3 separate regions of the Homo sapiens genome follow, and regions 1 and 3 are each linked to region 2. The links are contacts of gene promoters, found by promoter capture Hi-C in human tissues and cell types (Jung and others, 2019). All regions are on one chromosome and are shown on one strand. The core of a region is centred on a gene start or on the middle of the fragment in contact, and the rest is flanking DNA. Distances in the headings are between cores, read along the strand shown.

Evidence for each region. The method cuts DNA at HindIII sites, captures the fragments that hold promoters and counts their contacts. A contact is called where the count stands out against the background at its distance.
Region 1: a contact is called between a fragment that was not itself captured here and the fragment with the promoter of SYT5 in region 2, in 2 of the 25 tissues and cell types used here (dorsolateral prefrontal cortex and lymphoblastoid cells).
Region 3: a contact is called between the fragment with the promoter of ISOC2 here and the fragment with the promoter of SYT5 in region 2, in 1 of the 25 tissues and cell types used here (small bowel).

Annotation. Positions count from the first base shown.
Region 1 is chr19:55,617,936-55,620,692 of GRCh38, reverse strand. No RefSeq gene overlaps it. Among named protein-coding and RNA genes, the nearest start is that of ZNF784, 5.3 kb to the left of the region's middle. The HindIII fragment of the contact is 5,055 bases long and covers 1-2,757 here.
Region 2 is chr19:55,178,973-55,181,672 of GRCh38, reverse strand. SYT5 (synaptotagmin 5) reads left to right here and starts at 1,384. Exons shown (of 9, transcript NM_003180.3): 1 at 1,384-1,556; 2 at 2,587-2,700. The coding sequence starts at 2,632. PTPRH (protein tyrosine phosphatase receptor type H) reads left to right here. Exons shown (of 20, transcript NM_002842.5): 20 at 1-426. RefSeq lists silencers at 1,369-1,558, 1,439-1,851 and an enhancer at 1,839-1,918. The HindIII fragment of the contact is 16,640 bases long and covers 1-2,700 here.
Region 3 is chr19:55,460,259-55,463,165 of GRCh38, reverse strand. It overlaps ISOC2 (isochorismatase domain containing 2), which reads left to right and starts at 1,524. Exons shown (of 6, transcript NM_001136201.2): 1 at 1,524-1,654. C19orf85 (chromosome 19 open reading frame 85) reads left to right here. Exons shown (of 2, transcript NM_001386794.1): 2 at 1-165. RefSeq lists an enhancer at 1-139. The HindIII fragment of the contact is 25,257 bases long and covers 1-2,907 here.

The DNA.
Region 1 (2,757 bases), core at 112-2,611, 440 kb before region 2:
AGGAGGGGCCTCACCATGGTTTTGCCACCAGCAGTCAGTTGCATCATCTCTTCCTCCAAGCTTCTGTTTCCCCATCATCAGAATGGGGGGTGAGTAGGCCCCACTGTGGTTACGTGTTATGTGGTTCAGCTGTAGGAGAGGGGGGTCAGGGAAGTTTGGCAAAAGCACACTCAACATGCTTTGCATGCTTGTTGAGTGAGAGCCTCTGATTTGCACACCTTTCTGTTCACCCAGTGGGCCCCATGAGATAACTCACAGGCAACTCACAATGTGAACAGAACTCATTCCATTTTCCTCAAAGAAACCTCCATGCTTCTGATGTCATTGGCACCACCACCCAAGCTGGATACCTGGGCAGGTTTAAACCTTCTTCATCCTCATTCTTATGTCCAGTCCCTTATCAGTTTCCCTCAGTTGAGCCAGTTAATATCTTTGGAACTGGAACGTGTTTTCGGCATCACTACACTTGTAGACCAACAGTGGTCTCACACACAGACAACTGCACAGCAGTCCAGTGCCTGCATTTTTTTTTTTTTTTTTTTTTTTTTTTTTTTTTTTTTTTTTTTTTGAGATGGAGTTTTGCTCTTGTTGCCCAGGCTGGAGTCCAATGGCACAATCTCTGCTCACTGCAACCTCTGCCTCCTGGATTCAAGCACTTCTGCCTCAGCCTCCTGAGTAGCTAGGATTACAGGTGGGCGCCATCACGCTCAGTTCATTTTTGTATTTTTAGTAGAGATGGGGTTTCATCATGTTGGCCAGGCTGGTCTCAAATTCCTTACCTCAGGTGATCTACTCGCCTCGGCCTCCCAAAGTGTTGGGATTACAGGCGTGAGCCACTGCACCCGGCCACCTGCCCTCTTCATTCTCCATATGGCATCCATGCAGATCCTTGTCACCAAGACACAGCTCCTTGTGGCTTTGAGACGATTTGGAAATGTGAATGCCTACAGGAGCTGGGTGAAAATGTAAATACACGAGCAAGACGGCCAGGTTCAAGGGGAAAATATCAGCAACATGAAATAATGGCGATTGCCACCAGGTCTCAGAATTGGTATTCAACAAATTGGAGAGTGCCTCTTCAGAAGAGGGTAATGGCTGCTCAGCTCCGGAACACAGATTGGGTTGCCACATCTTCCAGTTTCTTTCAGAAGTTCCATTAGTTCACATTATGTAAAATCTTTTGATTTCCCAATGTTGGCAGTCAAGTCAAACTTTTTAAAAAATGCACAGACTAAACAAAAATGTGTTAGTGGTCATATTCGGCCTTGCAGCTGCCAGTTTCCAGCCTCTAGCCTATAAAATCACCCAAGCCCCACAGTTTGGAATTCAAGACCCTTCAGGGTTTAGCCCCCAGGAACCCAACCTCCAGCCATACTAATCTGTCTTAAATGCTCCAGAATAGCAGGGTTTAGTTCAACACACTAAACTCTCCGCCTGGAAATCTTTGCCACTTCTTTTTTTTTTTTTTTTTCTTATTTATTTATTTTTTTGAGACAGAGCCTTGCTCTGTCGCCCAGGATGGAGTGCAGTGGCATGATCTCGGCTCACTGCAAGCTCCGCCTTCTGGGTTCATGCCATTCTCCTGCCTCAGCCTCCCGTGTAGCTGGGACTACAGGCGCCTGCCACCTGCTCCCACCACCACACCCGGCTGATTTTTTGTATTTTTAGTAGAGACAGGGTTTCACCGTGTTAGCCAGGATGGTCTGGAGCTCCTGACCTCGTGATCCACCTGCCTCGGCCTCCCAAAGTGCTAGGATTACAGGCATGAGCCACCGTGCCCGGCCTCTTTGCCACTTCTTTACCTGGAAAACTCCAGTTGGTTTATGTCATCGTTCAGGGATCACCTTCTCCCCAAGAAGCTTTTCTAGCCCCCCTTCCACTCTGACAGGTGACTCCTCTGTGCTCCCTCAAGCCCTAGTGATACTTCCAAGTCCCTTACACTGTGAGGCTCCATTTCCATGTTACTGCTGAACCCTGAACCCTGGGGGCACTGGCACAACGTCTGTCTCATGCTGGGTCTTCAGCATTAGAACATGGAGCCACACAGGGTAGCTGCTCTCCCATGGGTCACACAGGACTCACCCAAGCAGCGCTCTTACCTAGTTTCATCTTCAAGTTTCTTTTTTTCCTTTTTTTTTTTTTTTTTTTTTTTTGAGATGGAATCTCGCTCTTGTCGCCTAGGCCGGAGTGCAGTGGCGCAATCTCAGCTCACTGCAACCTCCACCTCCTGGGTTCAAGTGATTCTCCTGCCTCAGCCTCCCGAGTAGCTGGGATTACAGGCACCTGCCATCACGCCCAGCTAATTTTTGTACTTTTAGTAGAAAGGATGGTTCACCATGTTGGCCAGACTGGTCTCGAACTCCTGACCTCAGGTGATCTGCTCGCCTTGGGCTCCCAAAGTACTGGGATTACAGGCATGAGCCACTGCACCTGGCCTCATCTTCAAGTTTCTGTACTGAAGTACTCTGGGACTGAAGTCCAAATTATTTATTTGTTGAGATGGAGTCTCACTCTGTCACCCAGGCTGGATGCAGTGGTGCGATCTCAGCTCACTGCAATCTCTGCCTCCTGAGTTCAAGTGATTCTCCTGCCTCAGCCTCCTGAGTAGCTGGGATTACAGATGCCCACCACCATGTCCAGCTAAGTTTTGTATTCTTAGTAGAGATGGGGTTTCACCACTTTGGCCAGGCTGGTCTCAAACGCCTGACCTCAAGTGATCTGCCCGCCTCGGCCTCCCAAAGTGCTGGGATTACAGGC
Region 2 (2,700 bases), core at 135-2,634:
GGGCTGGGCTCCCAGACTCCTGGGTGCTGTGGGAGGAGGGGGCTGGTATCCCAAACTCTGGTTTCCCCAGGAGAGAGTGGTCTGGTGGGCTTCAGATGAGTCCTATGGGAGCTGGGGATCTGGATTCCTGGTTCCCTGAAGGAGGAGAGGGATGATAGCTTGGATTCCCTAGGTCTTTCCAGGATGCAGAAAGAAACAGGCTGGGGCCTGGATTCTGAGGCAGGAAGGAATTTGGGTCTGGAGTTCTGGCTACTTGAGGACCAAAGGCAGGAAGGATCCTGCCTTGATTTTACTTCAGAAACCAAATCAGTCTTCTATAATCTGGGGTCGGAGGGAGTCCCTGTGCCCAAGGTCTCTCTGCACCCCACCATCCACATGTATTTTTCCTTCTATCCCATAATTTATTAAATCACTGTTCTCCCCAGAGACAGTTGTCCCATGGATTTCTGGGTCTGGAAATAATATTGGATTGGGAGTAGGGATGGGTTCCTGGTATCTAGGGATCGAGGCGAACGTCCAGGAGGGGACTAGAGGGACCCACACATTTGCACATGAAAAAATGTAGGTTTGGGTGGTTGAGTCTCTCAGAGAAGGCAGTGTCCAGACGTCTGTGTCCAGGGTCTGGGCAGTATGGACAGGGCTCGCTGGAGCTAGGTGCTTGGGGACTTGCCTTCTGAGCTTTTCTTTTACTCTTCTCTGTTGTTGTTGTTGTTGTTTTGTTCTGTTTTTGTTTTTGTTTTTGAGACATGGTCTTGCTCTGTTGCCCAGACTGGAGTGCAGTGGCTCACTGCAGCCTTGACCTCCTGGGCCCAGGTGATCTTCCCACCTCAGCCTCTAGAGTAGCTGCCATCACAAGTGCGCACCACCACGCTGGCTCATTTTTGTAGAGACGGGATTTTGCTATGTTGCCCAGGCTGGTCTCCAGCTCCTGGGCTCAAGCATTCCTCCTGCTTCGGCCTCCCAAAGTGCTGAGGTTACAGGTATGAGCCACCGCACTGGCCGCCTCCTGGGACTGGTGTTAGGGGAACTTAGAGGGCGATGTCTGGGGGCTGATAGCTGGGGACTTTGATGCTGAACCCTGCAGAGTCTGGGTCTCCAATGGGGGTCTGGGGTCTCCTAGGTCCTAGGACTGAGTATCCTGGCATGCCGTTCTTTGGGCTATACAGGGTGTGTGTCGTGTGTGTTGGGGCGGGAGGAGTGGAGTGGTCTGGACGGCCAACGACTGGACCAGAAGGCAGAAAATGCTAAAGCACCAGGATAAACATCTGTGGGCGTCATCGAGGTTCCCGGGTGGAGGCGGGAGGAGGGGCGGGGCAGGGCTTTCCGCCTACCCGAGACCAAATACGGGCACACACAATACACACCACACACGCGCGCACACGCACACGGGCACACACGCGCGCACGGGATCCTGCTCCGCTCCGCGGCTCCCCCGCCCCGGAGAGCTCCGCGATCAGCACCCGGGACAGCGCCACCGCCCACGTGCAGGGGGTGGGGTCCGGGCGGGGCTGGCGCCTCGGCGTCTCCCGGGAGTGTCCCGTCCAGCCGCCGAGCAGGTAGGAGCTGCTGGGACCCCCGCCCTCAGCCCATCCGCATCCGCATCCCTAGAGGAAAGGGGTGTGCGAGTGGGGGCTGGGGCACTGGGGAGACAACCAGAGGGAGGGCAGCAGCCTGAAGCGGAGAGACAGGGATCTGGGGACGCGAGACAGGTATGGAGAAGACAAAGAGCCGAGGGCGGGGAGTGGGGCGCAGGCGGAGGGGAGAGGGAGAGACCCTGGAGACAGAGGCCAGGCGATAGGGAAGAGAGACAGGCGGGTTGGGGAGGCAGACACAGGGAAGACGCCTATGTGGGGTCAAGAGGCAGCGTGGAGACCGAGGCGGTCACGAGAGCAGCACGGATGCGTGGAGAGACCAACAGGCCAAGAAGGATGAGGGGGCTCAGCACAGGCACCGGGCAGCCCCCGACCCGCCCTCCAGCAAAATTGGGGAGAGGGAAGAGGGAACCTGCGTCTCAGCTCCCAGGACCAGGTGCGGAGGGAGCAGTCGGCTGTGGGCGCTCGGACCACAGGCTGCCCGCTCCCCACCTCGCGGGACCTCAGGATCCCAGTCGGGCTATTGGGGGGTTCCCAGGCACCGGTGGGCCCCGGAGCGAGCCTGCCCCGCCGGGACTCCGCGTCTGTGCGTCAGCCCCGCCCGTTGTCCTGGCAACAACCCGTTGCCCGGGCAACCAGCTTTGCTCTCACCCCGCTTGAGAGGAGCCCGGCTGTTGCTCTGGGCAACGCGGTCTGCTGGTTCCCACGTCTGCCTTCGCCCGCTTCCGGTTCAGACCCTGCGGAGGGGCGAGGACGAGGCAGAAGTCAGCGGGATGCCTGTGGGGCCGTGGAGGAAGAGGGTATCCCTTTAGGATGGAACTAGGTCCTGGACACCCCCTCTCAAGTGCGGGGAGGCTGATACTACAACTCCCAGCATGACTCGCGGTGGCTGTCCGGTTTCTGCGCGGCTGTTCGCGCAAAGGCCTCATGGGAGTTGGAGTTCTTTGTTGTGCGTGGGGCTCAAAGGACGTCTGGGGTGGGAATGGGGGACTAGGGTGCTTGAGTGTCTCTGCAGAAAAGACTCCAGGACCCCGCCACCATGTTCCCGGAGCCCCCAACCCCGGGGCCTCCATCGCCCGACACGCCTCCCGACTCCAGTCGCATCAGC
Region 3 (2,907 bases), core at 275-2,774, 280 kb before region 2:
TCCCAAAGATGTATCGAGCGCCTACTATGGGCCAGGCCCAGGTCTAGGACTTGAGGATTCAGCTGTGAACGAGGCAGACGGGACCCCTGCCTCAGGGAGCTCCCTGTTCTGTGTGCATGTGTGTGTTTTGGCGGGGAACAGACAATAAAAGAGTATATCCATGCATTTTTCAAAAAGCAAGATTCATTTCCAATTCAGATTGGAGTTAGTGCTGAAAAGAAAATAAAACACAAGGCCGGGTGCGGCGGCTCACACCTGTAATCGCAGCACTCTGGGAGGCCAAGGCAGGCGGATCACTTGAGCCCAGGAGTTCAAAACCAGCCTGGGCAACAGAGTGAGACCTCCATCTTTACAAAAAAATTAAAAAATTAGTCAGGTGTGGTGGCGCATACCTGTGGTCCCAGCTACTCAGGAGGCTGAGGTGGGAGGATCGCTTGAGCCCGGGAGGTTGAGGCTGCAGCAAGCTGTGATCGTACCATGGTACTCCAGCCTGGGTGATAGAGCAATTTTTTTCTTTTTTTTGATGTTTCAAAAAAATTAAAAACAGCGACCTGATGGAAGGGCTACCTGACACCAGGTGGTCAGGAAAGGCTTTGAAAGCCTGGAAGGTTGGGCCATGGGGAGTCCTAGGATTCCAGGCTGAGGCAGCACACGTGCAAAGGCCCTGCGGTGGGACATTGAGGGAAGAGCAAGAGGAGACCCCTGTGGCTGGAGCGGAGTGAGCAGGGGGAGTGGTGAGAGGCGAGGTCTGCACGGACCAGGAAGGCCGACCATGAATTGGGAGGAGTTTGGATTTATTCCAAGACAGATAGGAAATTCTCTCTTTCTCTCAACCTCCATTTCCAAGCACAGAGTCTAAATTATTCTAAACACCACCCGAGGAGGCAGGTGCTGTACAGATGGGGAAACTGAGGCAGCACAGAGCGCAAAGGACAGGGGGGCGTCAAATTCCTCACTTGATCGCTCCCTCAGCCAGCCCCTTCCTGGAAAGTGCTTGGGTATCTTTGTAAGCCTCCGTTTCTTGAGAGAGGGCCAGGTTTCGAACCGCAGACATGCCTCTACTCTAGGTAAGACCCCTCTCTCTCTCTCCCGGCCTCGGCGGTCTGCTCTGTGCAATGGGGCCGGCCGAGACGCCCTCTCTCCAGCCAGAGTCTGAGCCTTCGGAGACCACCGCGCGACTCCGCCCCGTCGGCCGCCACTCACGCCCTCTACGGCTCTCCATTGGCAGAACGACCTGCTGCCCCGCCCCCACGGCGCCTTTGCGAGCTAATCATTTTCTTGAGACTGACAGCCTTGCCGGCACCGCCCCCCCTGGGGCGGGAGCAAAGCAGCTGCATATGCGGATTGGTTGAGAGGCAGGGGGCGGGGTGAGTTGGTGAGCGCCGATTGCGGGCAGAGGCAGTGGCACATGCGGATTGGCCGGAGAGAGCGGCGAGGCAGAGCATGATGAGTGTCGATTGGACGGCTGGGCCCAAGTGGGCGGAAAACGGACGGTGCAGGGGGTGGGCCACGTGTCCAGCCCTAACGAAACGGTAACCAGCCCTGGGAAGCCCGCAAGAGGCCTCAGCGGTGGCCGTCCGAGAGCCGAGAGGTGAGGGTGCCCCCGCCTCACCTGCAGAGGGGCCGTTCCGGGCTCGAACCCGGCACCTTCCGGGTAAGTCCTCTCTCGCTGCTGGCGCTATTTGGAGACCGACCTTACCGCCTAGCAGATGGGGAAACTGAGGCTCTGCCTGGGCGTCCCGGGCCAAGGTCACAGGACCAGAAGGAGGACTCCACCTGGCCCCGCCAGAATTGGCTGGCCAGAGATTGGAAGCGTCCCCGGGTCGCGCCTGCCGCCTCTGTAACAGCGCTGGGGGGTGGGCAGGTTTAATCCCCATTTCTCCGACGAGAAAACTGAGGCTAAGACAAAGAGAAACTTGCCCAAGGTCACACAGCCAGGAAGTCCGGGCTCCAAGGCCGGGTTTCCGAGACCGGGTGGGGAAATCAACGGCCCTACCCCGCCCCCTGTTGCCGCCCACCTCCAGCCACGCCCCCTTTGGCCTTGGGTACCCTCCACCCAGGCTGAATCTCTCCTCGTTCCGCAGGACACGCCCAACCCTCTCCAGCCCAGACCTCCCCTTCACATCTCTCTCTCTCACACACCCACCCTCACCCCAATTTTTCATCTCCCAAAAACCAGTTCCCCTCCCCGGGATCCCCTATGAATCTTCAGATCATGCCCCTCGCTCGACCAGAAACTGGGGGCCTTTCTCCCCGACTTTCCCCACCGTCCCAGCTGCCCCTTCCTGACTCTCCCCTGTCCCACTGGGCCCCAGCGCCGACCTCCTGCTCTCTGGCCTTTTGCCTCCAGTTCAACCGCACGGCGGGGGCCTGAAGCCATCTTTGTATTTTGCATTTTGAACACTTTTTCTGGAATAATACCACAAACGCAGAAAATCGAACGGTTTGCAAATACACAGCTTAAATAAATATTTATAAAGGGAGCACCCTGGTGTAAACAAGTATCCAAAGAAAAAAGTCAAACATGCGCCACATCCCAGGATCTCCCGCCGTCGTCGTTTCCATCACTGTGGTCCAAGGGCAGTCACTGTCCTGGCTTCTGACGCCATAGATCAGTTTTGCCGGGTTTTGGCTTTATGCCAACCCTTTATTGTATATAGTATTGACTAGACAACTTGTTGCACATTGTCCAGAATTCAGAAGAAACAGAATAGGACCCAGTGAAAAGGCTCCTACAGACTTCCCCGGTGCCTGGTTCACCCGCCTGAGTCTCCCGTTTCTTGCTTGTTTGCCAGAGATAGCAGATATAGATATAGGCAACACAGACACATTTTCCTCTCCCTTTTTTCTTTGGCACAAAAAGGAGCATTCCATACACACTGTTCTGCTTCTTTTTCACTTCTCTCA